Linked DNA regions of Homo sapiens: regions 1 and 3 are each linked to region 2. Evidence: promoter capture Hi-C in 16 types of primary human blood cells and fetal thymus (Javierre and others, 2016). All regions are on one chromosome and are shown on one strand. Each heading gives the region's core, a stretch centred on a gene start or on the middle of the fragment in contact. The rest is flanking DNA. Distances are from core to core; before and after follow the strand shown.

What was found. Contacts are between HindIII fragments. The CHiCAGO score rates a contact against its expected background, and 5 or more counts as called.
Region 1: a contact is called between the fragment with the promoter of WASL here and the fragment with the promoter of FAM3C in region 2, in 1 of 17 cell types (M0 macrophages). The highest score is 6.3, in M0 macrophages.
Region 3: a contact is called between a fragment that was not itself captured here and the fragment with the promoter of FAM3C in region 2, in 2 of 17 cell types (total CD4 T cells and total CD8 T cells). The highest score is 5.8, in total CD4 T cells.

Annotation. Positions count from the first base shown.
Region 1 is chr7:123,746,588-123,751,532 of GRCh38, reverse strand. It overlaps WASL (WASP like actin nucleation promoting factor), which reads left to right and starts at 2,530. Exons shown (of 11, transcript NM_003941.4): 1 at 2,530-2,915. The coding sequence starts at 2,799. WASL-DT (WASL divergent transcript) reads right to left here and starts at 2,338. Exons shown (of 1, transcript NR_170281.1): 1 at 552-2,338. RefSeq lists silencers at 2,248-2,567, 3,028-3,117 and enhancers at 2,146-2,800, 3,560-3,609. The HindIII fragment of the contact is 6,394 bases long and covers 1-4,945 here.
Region 2 is chr7:121,393,960-121,398,673 of GRCh38, reverse strand. FAM3C (FAM3 metabolism regulating signaling molecule C) reads left to right here and starts at 2,366. Exons shown (of 10, transcript NM_014888.3): 1 at 2,366-2,512. It also overlaps the pseudogene CYCSP19. RefSeq lists silencers at 2,002-2,061, 2,102-2,931 and enhancers at 2,159-2,743, 2,744-3,329. The HindIII fragment of the contact is 3,372 bases long and covers 626-3,997 here.
Region 3 is chr7:123,558,961-123,563,861 of GRCh38, reverse strand. It overlaps a transcript of NDUFA5 not described here. Among named protein-coding and RNA genes, the nearest start is that of NDUFA5, 3.6 kb to the right of the region's middle. The HindIII fragment of the contact is 3,539 bases long and covers 1,507-4,901 here.

The DNA of each region.
Region 1 (4,945 bases), core at 1,281-3,780, 2.4 Mb before region 2:
AGTCTAGGCTAGTAAGAGGTTGTGAAATGATTGGAACTCAATAATTCTCAGAATGAGATAAATTCTTGAACGCAGCTACTGTCCATTCACCTATCATCTCATGGCCTTTTTTTTTTTTTTCACAGCCCTCTCCCACTACTCTTTCCTGTCTTCAAAATAGTTTGGTGGTCTACAAGTTCTAAAAGCTGGTATTTCTAACATAAAATTTGCTAATCTTTCAGTTTTTATTAAATTAGAAGCTAATAGGATTCTATCTCTGGATTTACAGTTTTAAAAAGTTTTATTTTGGCATACTGGGATATATGTAGCCTATTTGATATAATATATGGCCTAATCAGAAATTCTGCTATCAAGTTCTTCACTATATTTTTGAAAAAATATGTACAATTGTATATTTGAAGGACAGTTTTTGAAGAGTCAGAATTAGAACAAAGGTAAGAATACATATATTAAGTCTTGATCCCTTAGCTCAGGGAAAGCAGAAAAGACCATAGGCAAGGACTGTCAATGGCCGACAACTAATACTTGAGTAACCACTATGTATCAGGTACTTTACATGTGATACCTTTTTTTAATGTCTTATAATTTTAGTTTAAAAAAATTTTAATACACAATAACTGTACATATTTATGGGGGTACATAGTGATGTTGCAATACATATAACATATAGTGATTAGGGTAATTAGCATATCTATCATCTCAAAAACTTATGTCTTTGTTTTGGGAACATGCAATATCCTTCTTCTAGCTATTTGAAACTATACAATATTGTTAACTATAGTCATCCTACAGTGCTACAGAACACTAGAACTTATACCTCCTATCTAGTTGTAATTGTGTATTTTACAACTTTGAAGTAGGTGTAATTATCCCTATTTAGACTATACCTGTATGAAACAGAAATTATTTTCATTTTACAGATGAGGAAACAGACGCAGAGAAGTAATTTGTCCAAAGTCCATAGGGTTGTAAGACTCATAACAAGAACTACAACTTGGGCCTATCTGAATCTTATACTTCTGGTACTATACTTGTTCACAGGTTTGAAAAGAGCTTTAATTTCTATTATTTCTCAAGAATTTGTAATGCTTTCTCTTGTCACTGTGCTTTCAACTTAGAGGAGTTGCAGTTTTGATAAAAGACAAACTGATTTAGCTTCTAGGTTTGTTAAATATGTAATTCAGAGGCAACTCCAGGCTTATATTTCTACGACTGCTTTCTAAATCTAATTATTTTATAAATAGTCCTGTTGCTTTAATTCACTTTTTACCCTAACATAATTAATCAAGTTTAACTTTGAAATCTCCATATTTTATGTGAGAACTCCCAAGGCTATCCACTTTTATTTTCCTTTGTAAATTTATTGTTGCTCAGCCTATTTCATTAATGGCAGCTTTAATTATAATATTTTATTATATTTTCAAAGTGCATGATAATGGTTTACCAGTCTGGTTAGTACATCAGAGATTTCTATTGGGAGCTATCAGAGATGTTAACATCCAACAATTTTACCAAAGTGTAATTGTTATAGACGTCTTAACATGAATTTACGCAACAAAAATATGTTTAATGTGGAGAACAGTGAGATGCATATTTGATAATTCACTGCAGTCTGCATCATCATCTCTATATTCCAAAATTTCGTCTTAAGCCGTTTAGTATTTAACTTACAGAAGAAAGGGGGTTATCTTAGATAACTTTTAATATCCTAAGGTATTTTCCAATTCACGATACAGGGAGAAAAGAAATGTGTCCAGGCCCTTAGAAGAAAATACTTTGAATTTAAATGTGACACATACATTAAACCCGCGTGACACGCCAGGCAGGCGGTGGAAGTCAAGTGCATTTGTTTTTGTTTCATCCACCAGGGCGATCTCTTTCACAATTCTGGGAGAGGCCTGTTTGTTCCTCCACTCCCACAGCTGAAGTTTGGGACAAAGTTTGAGAAAATCCCAGGCACCTGCGGCTCCTATCGAAGCCGGCGAGGAGCACAGGGTAGAGCGTCTCTTCCCAGTTTTCAGTCTTCAGATCGCAGGCCTCTCGGACCCGCAGAGCGAGCTTCACGCTGCAGCGCTTGAGAAATAAGAGCTATTCCAAGGAGGGGCCCTGGGTCCTCACTGACGCTTCGCAAAGGTGTACGTCCGCCCAGGGAAGGCCGGCGGCGCAGCGACGGCGAGGAGTCCCCATCCATCTTCTCTTCAAGCAGCAGTAGCTGGGTTCGGGTACCCAACCGACGAGCCGAGACGCCAGAGGCCAGAGTACGAAGTTGGAAGCCTGCGCCCCAAGCCAACCGGGATTCCACTTAGCTCCGCGCGGTCCGCGCCTCGGCCGGAAGGGGGCGTGGCTTCGGGCCCGCGCCGCGAGGCCCGCCGCCGAGTGGGGGGGTTTCTCCCGGGCCGCAGCCGCGCGTTTCCGGCGCGCTCCCCCGCGCCCTCCGTCCTGTGGTCTCGCCCGCCCCCGCTGCCATGTTGGATTGTGCGGCCGCCGCCGCCGCTGCGGGAGGGTTGGGGGAGGAGTTGGGAGTTTAGCGCAGTCGCCGGAGTGCGAGGACAACGACCATCCGGCCCTAGCCTGGCCGGGCGGGTGCCGGGAGCTTCCCTTTCTCAGCGCGGCGCGAAGGTGGCTCGCCGTCAGCGCCTGCTTCCCTCGACCTCGTCCTCCTCCCCGCTCCGGAGGAGCTGCGAGATGTGGCGCCTCTGACTCCACTTCTCCCCGCCCCTGTCACCGAGAGGGGGAACGAGCTCTCGCCCACTCGCCGGAGGAGACGGCCCTGGACTCCCAACCCCGCCGGCGAAACCATGAGCTCCGTCCAGCAGCAGCCGCCGCCGCCGCGGAGGGTCACCAACGTGGGGTCCCTGTTGCTCACCCCGCAGGAGAACGAGTCCCTCTTCACTTTCCTCGGCAAGAAATGTGTGGTCAGTGGACGAGACCCGCGTCGCCACCCGTGACATTACCTCACGGGCCCGGGCTTGGGGGCCGGGAAGTGGGAGTGGGGAAGGAGGCGGGAGCGGCGCGGGCCAGGCCTCCCGCCAGCCCCGGCCCCGGCCCCGGCCCCTCGTCGGCGCCCTCGCCCTGCTCCCAGGGTGCGGGCCGTGGCGGTCGGGCGCCGCCTTCCCGAGCTGCTGGAGAATAAGGGAGTGTCACCTCCGCAGGCCTGTCCTCCAGCCTGGCCGGGCCTCGGCCCGCGCCCTTGCTGCTGGTTAAAACTTTATTCTCAGGCCACAAGGGGATTTTCTTGCAAGAGCCGCTTGGTCCTAGAATCTGGGCCCTTGTTCTAGCTCTCGCTTCACCTCTTACTGCTTGATCTGGGGGTACGTTCCTTAACAATGCCAGGTTTGAGGAGTGGATAGGTCGGGGAAGGAAGGTGGTTTTTAATCTCCCATTAGGATTCCAGGAGGGAATGAAGTCGAGTGCAAGAGCCTGGGCTCTCTTCGGATTAGAGAGGGTGCAAGAAATGTTATTGCTCTTCGTTAAAGAGAAACAAGATTTATTTCTCTAGCAACCTTGCCTAGGCCTGGTTTCTACTCTCCTTCCCACTGATTTTTTTTTTCCCCCCATTGGTGGGAGGGGGTGCTGCTCTCCCCGCAGCCATGCGCAGGGAAACCTCAATCTCTGGTAGCTCTTGGCTTTTGGGGCCGAGAATGATTCTTAGTTTGGTGCTGTGCGGCCAATTCCAACCCCAGATGGCCGGTTGGGAGCGAGCAGTTCTGCTGTGGGAAGGGGAATGTGTGTTGTTGACGGAAGCATTCATTACATTGGCTGCTGGCAATTCTGGGGGTGGGGAGGTTCTGCTCTGTGGTGTAGGCCTTGTCGGGATCATACTGCGGTGACTGGGTTGAAGTGTGGTTTGTTGAAATACTGGCTGGATCCCTTTCTCTCCACTTTGCTAGCACCTGCAGAGTATGTGCCACTGGAACCCAGAAAACACGGAAATTTCAACAAAGCAATACCATTTTATAACTCCTTTAAGTAATATTAGGTATGCCAAACCAGATTTCACCTGCTTCTTTAAGAAGTTAGGATTAGACAATTTCTGGAAAGTTATTGGATTCATTGTTAACTTCATAGGAGTCCACCCTTTGTATCTTGTGCCATCCGGTTGGAGATTGAATCGTTCCATTCAATTTCAGATGTGTTTCATATTTCGGAATTTAGACCTTAGAGAACATTGAGTTTCCTGATTAGAAGGATGAAACAAGAGGAGTGGCTCAAAACGAGAATTTTGGGTAACAACTTTAAGCCCCTCCCCATTCACACACACTTTTTTCAACAAATGAGAAAACTGATCCAGTGAGCCCAAGTCATACAGCAATTTAATAATGTAACCAGAACTAGAAAACCAGGACTCCTCACACCTAGTCCTATCCCATTGTACTTTGCACTACATCATGTTGTTTTAGAAGGGTATTTTTTTTTCCTGTTACTGATTTATTTCTAAAAGTGGTGTTAAAGAAATAACCACTTTGCCTTTTTCACCAAAAACTAATTAAAATACAAGATTCTTAAAGCACCACTAATGTTTGCATATGCTCAGTTTAGGAAAATCTTCAGCACTTTGAATGTTAGTTACCTCCAATGAAAAAAATTCAGTTGCTGGTTTAGTAGATTAGCTATGTAACCTGTATCAAAAAGGAAGTAGTTGTGCTGTGTTCTACATACCAGACACATTAACTTTAGGCAGAAAGGACATTACATTTATACACAAGTATACTAATTGTTCTGTGCTTACCTGTAGTTTTACTGGTTTCGAAAAATGGCAGATGGGGAAAAATACTGTGATAGAGAAAAATGATGTTGCACATTGGTTAGTGTAAGTGGATTGCTGAATAGGCTCTCAGTATTCAGTGCTTAATTTCTTTATGCCATCTTTTATTAATCAACTGTACCTTTTGAATTTGTCATTTAAAAACCACACTTTCAGTTGTCTGCTTTTGTGGGATGAAGT
Region 2 (4,714 bases), core at 1,117-3,616:
TCTTGGGATTCTCCAAATACTCCATCAGTGTATCCTCTCCCCAGGTGATGCCTTTGTTCTTAATGGCATCTGTGTAAAATAATCCAACGGCTTGACCTGTCTTCCATCCGAAGAGACCATGGAGATTAGGCCCAGTCCTGTGCTTGCCTGCCTTTTCCACAGTGTGGCACTGGGCACACTTCTGAATACAAATCTTCTTGCCTTTCTCAACATCATCCATATTTAATCCTCTCTTTTGTTGCTTGTGCTATGAAGGATGACACTCAGAAGCTGGATGTCACACTCTCTGTATATTCTTTTCGAGTCAACAAAAAAGTTGGGCTTTGAAGTTGAGCACGTGAGTTTGAATCTTAGCTCTGTCTGGTCATAGCAGAAGGACCTTGAGCAAGTTTCACTTTTCTCCGCTGTATTTATAGGATTATTGTGAGAATTAAATAAGTCTATATATATAAAGTGCTTAGAAAAGTGCCTGGTGCACAATAAGCACACAATAAATATCAGCTTTAGAAATATACATTATCAGTAGCTATTATTATATAATATAAATTATCGGTAGTTATTGTAATAGCCAACACCTTTGGCTTATACCTCCTGGAGCTGTAAAGCTCTGTGGTTTTATTAAGCTTAATCATTAATCCTGAATACTTCTCCTGGCTCCCCTACCTCCTGCCAAGTAAAAGTAGGAAGTTATCCTTACTCGTTTATAGGTGTAAGAACTGGCTGATTAACAGGAGTCCTAAAGAAGTGATTTACCAATGTTAAAAAAATTGAAACCCATATTAAGAAATATAATTTCTACTGTATCCAGGACATAGACACACAGACACTCACCCACACATGATGCTGTACAAATGTTTCATGAAGAATACTTATCCTGAATTTATGCTTTGAACTGTTTTTTTTTTCTATTTTTCAGTGAATCAACAGCAACAAAATGTTGGTTGTGACCCATTGTTATTAATTTCATTACCTACCAAAGGGTTCTAAGCTATATCTTATGGTCAGTGGAGAATAGGCTACTAACACATTAAACTTTATGCACAGGAATTGTTTCAGGTGTGGTGCTATAAGAATATGTCACATGTAATTTCCAATCTGGTTGGCTCGGTTACAGAGCAGATTGCTCTTTCAGAAATACACCGTGACCTCCCTACTCAAGAGGCTTCATAAACTCTTTCAGTGAGACATAGCAGTCTAGGAGAGGCATGTGTACAGTAAGTGTTATGATTTTTTGGTACTATAATAAGCAAAGTGCCTTTTTGTTTATTTGGAGCTACATGAAGCTAGGCCGGAATTCCAGCTTCATAACTTACTATCTTGTATTTTTGAGCAAGATATTTAAACTCAGTTTTGGAGTCTTAGTTTTTTGATTTAAGTAATACACAAATAGCATAATATTGGCACATGGAAGACAATGAGAATTCATTTCATGCTTTCTCCCCTGATCACGGATCACAAACTCCAGAATTCATAGTTACTATTAGTTTGTGTGTTTTATATTTTTGGAGGAAAGCTAAAATTTGGTAGATTATTAATTCTATATTAACACACTATAGTCAAACCCTATTTTTAAATGCAATTTAATTTCTGCAACCACTGATGATCCCAATATTCTGTCAAATACTAGGTAACAGTTATTCATTATTTTAGAATATGGATCTGAATTATGAAATAATTTTGCATTCTAAGGTCTTATGTAGTAAGATTTGGATTAACTTCCCAATTATCAACACAATTGTAGGAAATCTCCTGAGAAAAAATATTTCTAACGATTGTGTATCTTATAATTTAAAAAATAAACGTGACTTGGAAAATGCAAGGACTACTGTTCTTCTTGGGTGGTGCATTAAAGGTGATCAGAATTCTAATGACGCTGGACAGTAGGATTTTCAGAATCAGTTTCCTAGGGTTCAAGAAGTCAAACGGCAAATAACCCAAGGTCCTTGGTTGATCTGACCATCTCAGCTATCTCAAGATATATAAGATGACCTAACTGGCGCATCTCTAGGATGGGTGGGTCATTTAAAATGTTCTGCCCTTGAGGCTGGGATTTTGTGCGTGTAAACGGTGGGGAGACGGCGGTGACACATTTTTCTCCCTCCCGTAGTGCCACCCGGCGCAGGGCCGCTGCGGCGGCGGCAGCTCCCACGTGGCAAGTTCAGATTGTGCAGCGCCTGGCCGGGGGCGGTGGGCGGGACCGCAGACCCCTCCCTCCGCTCTCCGGCCCTTCCCTCTGGCCGGCCCGGGCGCCCGCTTGGTCCTCCACCGCCAGGGGGCGGGCGCGGCTTCCCGGCGGCGGGGGCCCATTGGTCGCGGCCGGGAAGCGTGGGAGGAGGCCCAGCGGCGAGCTGGCTTTCTCCTGGCCACTTGCCGGGGTGAGGGGCAGCCGGAGGAGTCCGAGAGGAAGCGGAGGCGCGAGCTGGAGGCGGCGGCTCCCGTCGGCCTCCGGCAGGACTGAGCGCTGGGAGGCCGGAAGGCGGGCGCGCGCGGCGGAGAGGCGGGCGGGAGGCCGGTGAGACGGCTGGGAGGCGGACGGAGCCGGGGCTCAGGTTCGGGGAGGGATGGAGGAGGCCGGGGAAGCCAGACGCCCACCTACGACTTCAGCCTCCGCGCACTGCGGTCACCGGCCGGGGGCGGGCCCCGGGCCCGGCCGCGTTGTCACGGCGTGTCCGGACGTTGGAGAGGGCGCAGGCGGGACTGGGGTCCCGGAGAGCCGCTGGCCGGGGTTCCCGGCCGCCGCCCCGGCGTGGGCATCCCCGGGCTCCGCGGAGACGGGGCGGCGTCTGCACCTGGCGCTGGCACTCGGCGCCCCGGCCTGGGGCGGGCACCTGGGTCGCATCTTCCCCAGGTTGGCTGTGGCTCGCGCCCCTGCAGCGTGTAGGCTGAGAGCTCCGAGAGGTGGGGACGGAGTTGGGTGTTGCATTCCAACTCCATAGGGGGCCGTTTTGACTCACTTGTAAAGTTTTAGTGTCGCCTATACTAGAGGTACTTTTGGTTTTTTACAAGCTATCCAGCCCTTTGATGTTTGGTGTCTCTTCTTTTTCTTCCTATTTGTTTGCTACTGCTCTCACAGCTCGGGACCACGGATGATGATTAGTGGCCCTAGATCTGAATATGTGAGTGACGGATTGGCAATTTGAGATTGAGAGCTCCAGCTGTTTTACTTGTGGGAGGAGCGGTTTCCATCATCCTCTACCTTTTTTTTTTTTAAGAAAAAATATTATTGCCTGTAATATAGAACTGCTATCTAATTGATAGGACTTTTCCTTTGTTTCTTTTTGGCCAACATGGTGAAACCTCGTCTCTACTAAAAAATAAAAAAATTAGCCAGGTGTATGTATCCATATATATATATGTATGTATGTATCCATATATATGTATGTATCCATATATATGTATGTATCCATATATATGTATGTATCCATATATATGTATGTATGTATCCATATATATGTATGTATCCGTATATATGTATGTATCCATGTATCCATATATATGTATGTATCCATATATATATGGATACAATGACATAAATAATATTAGATTGCTTACTGTGTACTAGGCACTGCCAAATGGTTTCGTGTGCTCATTTATTCTCACAACAGCTCAGTGAATAAGTCCCTTTATCTTTTCTAGTTTTACAGATGGAAATATGAACTCCCGAGAGTAAAGGTCAATGCTGATAGCAGAGGCCCCGACCCCTTGGACTTGTGGCCAATTTGCAGTTACGTTTTCTTAAGTCTTGGGAACCGTTACTATTAGTCATACAGTATCTTACAGAGTACCAGCAGATCTCTATTGAATTTAGAAAATAAAAGTTAATCACTTACTGAAAGCCATTTAACAAGAAATTGGCAGAATCAGCAAATCAGCATCCGGTTTTGGTCACTTCATCGACCTGTACCTCTTTCTAGAGGCTACTAGTAGTCTCTTGTGTTTCTTGGCTGTTTACCAATAAAGTCACAAGGTTTTCAGTTTTATACAGGTATTAGAAGCTTTGTTTCACAGATTCTTGTAATGTTTTCTCAACTCAATAAAGACTAGCATTTCTTCATAGGAAGAAATAAGAAGAGTTGGAGCCAATAAAAGGAGTTCAGTCCAGCAGTTCTCAACCTGAGGACCTCTCTGAATTACCAATGGGAACTTTGTAAGAGGGACACAGGACAGGTTCCTCAAAATCCTCATTGTAAGGGGCTTCTGTTTCAAAAGGGAGTAAAAATAAGACACTACTGGCTTAAAGTGACTTTAAAAATAAACTTAATGGATGTTTTATTACAATTACAGATTTTTAATGTGGATTGCTGCCTTAAGCATTGTCAACTAATCTTTCATAATTTATGAAGATACATTAAAAAGGAAAAGGAAATTGGAAAAGACAGCCAAAAGGCTAAGAGGCTATGGAATGGCAAAAAGTAATGTTCCCTGAGGGGGTATCAGAAGACTCATATATTTTCCACCATATATTTTAGGTTTTGAACGATTCATTTTTCAAAAATTTTTATACTCTTAAAAATACTGGAGTGCCTACCATGTACCAGTAATTGTAGATATCATGGATACTATGAATAAGACAGCCTGGGCACTCACAAAGCTACTTTATTTTCTCTAAAGCAGGGAATCTTTTTTATTTTTATTTTTATGCCCATTTCTTAAAGCTGAAAGGTGCAAGACCCAAATAGCAAAAGATTTTTATGTTAGCGCTGAGCTAGATAGA
Region 3 (4,901 bases), core at 2,027-4,526, 2.2 Mb before region 2:
AAATCTCAATCCTGGTGCTTCCTGTTTAGAACCCTTAGAGAACTGCCTGTGGCTCTGTGACCCTCATCATTTAGCCTCCTGTAGGTCTACTGGCTCTAGGATACTGTGATAACAGCCACGTATATGTATAAAAGGCACACTTTATGTTATTGTGCTTTGCTATATTGTTTTACTTCGCAGATATTTTGCAAATTTAAAGTTTGTGGCAACTATGTATCAAGCAAGTCTATTAGCACCATTTTTTCCAACAGCATGTACTCACTTCATGCTTCTGTGTCACGTTTTGGTAACTCTTGAAATATTTCAAACTTCTTCCTTATCTATTATGGTGATCTGTAATTACTGATCTTTGATGTTAGTGTTATTAAGTGTCTTAGAGTTCAACAAACCACACCCATATAAGACAACAAACTTAAATGTTATTTGTGTTCTGGTTGCTCCACCGACTGGCTGTTCCCCATCTCTCTCCTTCTGCTCTAGCCTTCCTATTCCCTGAGATACAACAATGTTGAAATTAGGCCAGTTAATAATGCTGCAATGGCCTTTAAGTGTTCATGTGAAAGGAAGAGTCACAAATCTCTCACTTTAAAACAAAAGTTAGAAACGATTAAGCTTAGTGAGGGAGGCATGTTGAAAGCTAAGATGGGCCAAAAAGTAGGCCTCTTGCACCAGTTAGCCAAGCTGTGAATACAAAGAAAAAGTTCTTGAAGAAAATTAAAAGTGCTACTCTGTTAACACACGAATGATAAAAAGGCAAAACAGGCCAGGCGCGGTGGCTCACACCTGTAACCCCAGCACATTCAGAGACCGAGGTGGGCGGATCACCTGAGGTCAGGAGTTCTAGGCCAGCCTGACCAACATGGTGAAACCCTGTCTCTACTAAAAATACAAAAAAAAATTAGCTGGGAGTGGTGTGCCTGCCTGTAATCCTAGTTACTCAGGAGGCTGAGGCAGGAGAAATGCTTGAACCAGGGAGGCAAAGGTTGCAGTGAGGCGAGATCGTGCTGCTGCACTCCAGCCTGGGCAACAGAGAGAAAACTCTGACTCAAAAAAAAAAAAAAAAGAAAGAAAGAAAGAAAAGAAAAAGAAAAACAGCCTTATTGCTGATATGGAGAAAGTTTTAGTGACCTGGATAGACCAGGCCATCCACAACATTCCCTTAAGCCAAAACCTAATCCAGAGCAAGGCCCTGACTCTCTTCAGCACTATGAAGCCTAAGAGAGGTAAAAAAAGCTGCAGAAGAAAACTCTGAAGCTGTTAGAAATTGGTTCATGAGGTTTAAGGAAAGAAGCCATTTTCGTAACATAAAAGTGCAAGGTGAAGCAGCAAGTGCTGATGTAGAAGCTGCAGCAAGATCCAGAAGATCTAGCTAAGATCACTGATGGAGATAACCACAGGAAACAATAGATTTTTAAAAATGTAGATGAAACAGCCTTCTATGGGAAAAAGATGCTATCTAAGACTTTCAAAGCTAGAGAGGACAAGTCAACACCTGGCTTCAAAGCTTCAAAAGACAGGCTAACTCTCTTGTTACAGGCTTATGCAGCTGTTGAAGCCCATGCTCACTTACCATCCTGAAAATCCTAGGACCCTGAAGAATGATGCTAAATCTAGTCTGCCTGTGTTCTATAAATGGAACAACAAAGTCTGGGCTAAGAAAAAAGAAGATTTCTTTCAAAATATTACTGCTCATTGAAAATGTACCTGGTCACTCAAGAGCCCTGAGGATGAAGATGTACAAAGAGATTAACATTGTTTTCACGCACAACATGCTGCAGTCATCATTCTGCAGTCCACGAGTCAAGGAGTAATGTCCACTTTCAAGTCTTATTTAAAAAAATACATTTTATAAGGCTATAGTTACCATAAATACCGATTCCTCTGACAGATCTGGGTAACATAAATTGAAAACCTTCTTGAAAGAACTGACCACACTAGATGCTATTAAAAAGATTTGGTGATTCATGGGCCAGGTGCGGTGGCCACGCTTGTAATCCTAGCACTTTGGAAGGCTGAGGTGGGTGGATCATGAGGTCAGGAGTTCAAGACCAGCCCGGCCAAGACGGTGAAACCCCGTCTCTACTAAGAATACAAAAATTAGCCGGGTGCGGTGGCAGATGCCTGTAATTCCAGCTACTCGGGAGGCTGAGGCAGGAGAATTGCTTGAACTGGGGCAGCAGAGGTTGCAGTGAGCCAAGATCATGCCACTGCACTCCAGCCTGGGCAATAGAGACTCTGTCTCAAAAAAAAAATTGGTGATTCATGCAAGGAGGTCAAAATATCAATATTAACAGGAGTTTAGCAAAAGTTGATTCCAACTCACATGGATGACTTTGAGGGGTTGAAGATCAGTGGAAAAAGCCATTGCAAATGTGAGGAAAACAGCAAGAGAACCAGAATTAGAAGTAGAGCTTGAAGATGTGACTGAACTGCTGCAATCTCATGATAAAACTTGATCAGATGATGAGTTGCTTCTTGAATGAACAAAGAAAGTGGTTTCTTGAGATGGAATCTACTCCTGGTGAAGATACTGTGAATATTGTTTAAATGACAACAAAGTCTTTATAATATTTTATAAATTTGGTTGATAAAGCAGCAGCAGAATTGAGAGGACTGATTCCAATTTTGAGAGTTCTTCTGTGAGACAAGTGTTATCAAACAGTGCCTTCTGCTACTGACAAATCTTTTGTGAAAAATTTCTGCAAAAAGGAAGCTGGGATTTTGATAGGAATTGTGATGAAACGCTACATCAACTTGAGTATTGCCATCTGACCAATATTGACTTCAAATCATTAAATAAGAAATGTCTATTTATTTAGATCTTTAGTATTTCCAACAATATTTAATACTTTTCAGTGTACAAGTGTTACACTTATTTTGTTAGATTTATTTCTTTTTGATGCTATGGTAAATAGAATTGTTTTCTTAATTTATTTTCAGATTATTCATTGCTATAATAGACTAGAGCATATTTTTGTATATTGATTGCTATGGACTATGTCCCCCAGATTTCATATATTACAGCTCTAAACCTCAATAAAATGGTATTTGGAGATGGAATCTTTGGGAGATAATTAGGTTTAGATGAGGTCATGATGGTAACAGTGGCCTTATAAAAAGGGACACCAGAGATCTTGCTCTCCACCCTGACCCAACCCCAAGCACACACGAAAAGAGGTAAATATGAGCATACCATGAGAGGGTAACCAGTATAAGCCAAAAGAAAAAGCCTCAGAATGAAATCTGTCTTGCTGGCTTTGGTCTTAAACTTATCAGCCTTCAGAACTGTGAGAAATACATTTCTGTTGTTTAAGCCACCTCATCCATAGTATTTTGTTATGGCAGCCTGAGCTGACCCTGATAGATCACGTATAATGTAACTTTGCTGAAGTTATTTGTTTTAATTGTATGTATGTGTGTATTCCTTAATAATCCTATATAAAAGATTATGCAACTGTGAATAGAGATAGTTTTACTTTTTCCTGTCTCTTCTGGATGACTTTTATTCATTTTATTTTCTTGCCTAATTCCCTTAGCTAATATTTCCAATATATTGTTGGATAGAAGTGGTGAGAGTGGAAAAATATTTGTCTTGTGAATGATCTTAGCAGAAAAGAATTGCCTTTCACTCTTAAGTATGATGTTGTGGGGTTTTTCTAAGCATCTTTATCAGGTTGAAAAATTTCTCTTCTTTTCCCAGCTTGTTGTGTGCTTTTATCATGAAAGCATGTTGAAATTTGTCCAATGCTTTTTCTGCATCTATTAAAATTATCATATAGTTTTTGTCCTGTATTCAATGGTACATTAGATTAATTGATTTGGGGATGTTAAACCAACTTTGTATTTTTGAAATAAATATCATTTATTTGTGGTGTATAATTTTTTTTTCATATGCTACTGAATTTGGTTTGCTAGTACTTTTCTGAGTATTTTGTGTTTATTAATAAGGGATATTGGCCTGAAGTTTTATTTTCTTTTTTCTTTCCTTTTTTTTTTTTTTTTTTGTGAGACGGAATCTTGCTCTGTCACCCAGGCTAGAGTGCAATGGCCCAATCTTGGCTCACTGCAACCTCTGCCTCCTGAGTTTGAGTGATTCTCCTGTCTCAGCCTCCAGAGTAGCTGAGATTACAGGCACACACCACAAGGCCTGGCTAATTTTTGTATTTTTAGTAGAGAGAAGGTTTTGTCATGTTGGCCAGGCTGTCTCAAACCCTTGACCTCAGGTGATCCTCCTGCCTCAGCTTCCCAAAGTGCTGGGATTACAGGCATGAGCCACCAGGCCCAGCCGAAGTTTTCTTTTCTTGTTGATTTCTTTGTCTGGTTGGAATCAGAGTCCACACCTGGCTGAAGTTTTTGTTTCTTGTTGATTTCTTTGTCTGGTTGGAATCAGAGTAATACTTGCCTTATAGAATTAGTTGTTAATTGTTTCCTCCTCTTCTATATTTTGGAATAGTTTCTTAAGTGTTATTCTTTAATTGTTCAGTGGAATTTACCAGCGAAGCCATCTGGACCTGTGCTTTTCCTTCTGGATAGGTTTTTTTTTTTTTCTTGCTAATTCAATTTCTTTAATTATGTTAGATCTAGTCAGATTTTTCTTTATGCCTTCTTGAGTTGATTTAGGTAGTTTGTGTTTTTCTAGGAATCTGGCCATTTTATCTACTTTATCTTTTTTAAGCATAGTTGTTCATAGTATTCCTTCTTATTCCTGTTTATTTCAGCAAGGCTATTAGTGATGGTTCTTTTATTCTTGCTTGTATTAAATCTTCTCTCTTTTTTTTCTTAGTTTCACTAAAGGTTTGCCAATTTTGTTGATCCTTTTAGGGAACCAATTCCTGGTTTCATTGATTTTCTTTATTGATATTCTGTCTCCTTCTTTTCTAATCTTTAATATTTCCTTTCTT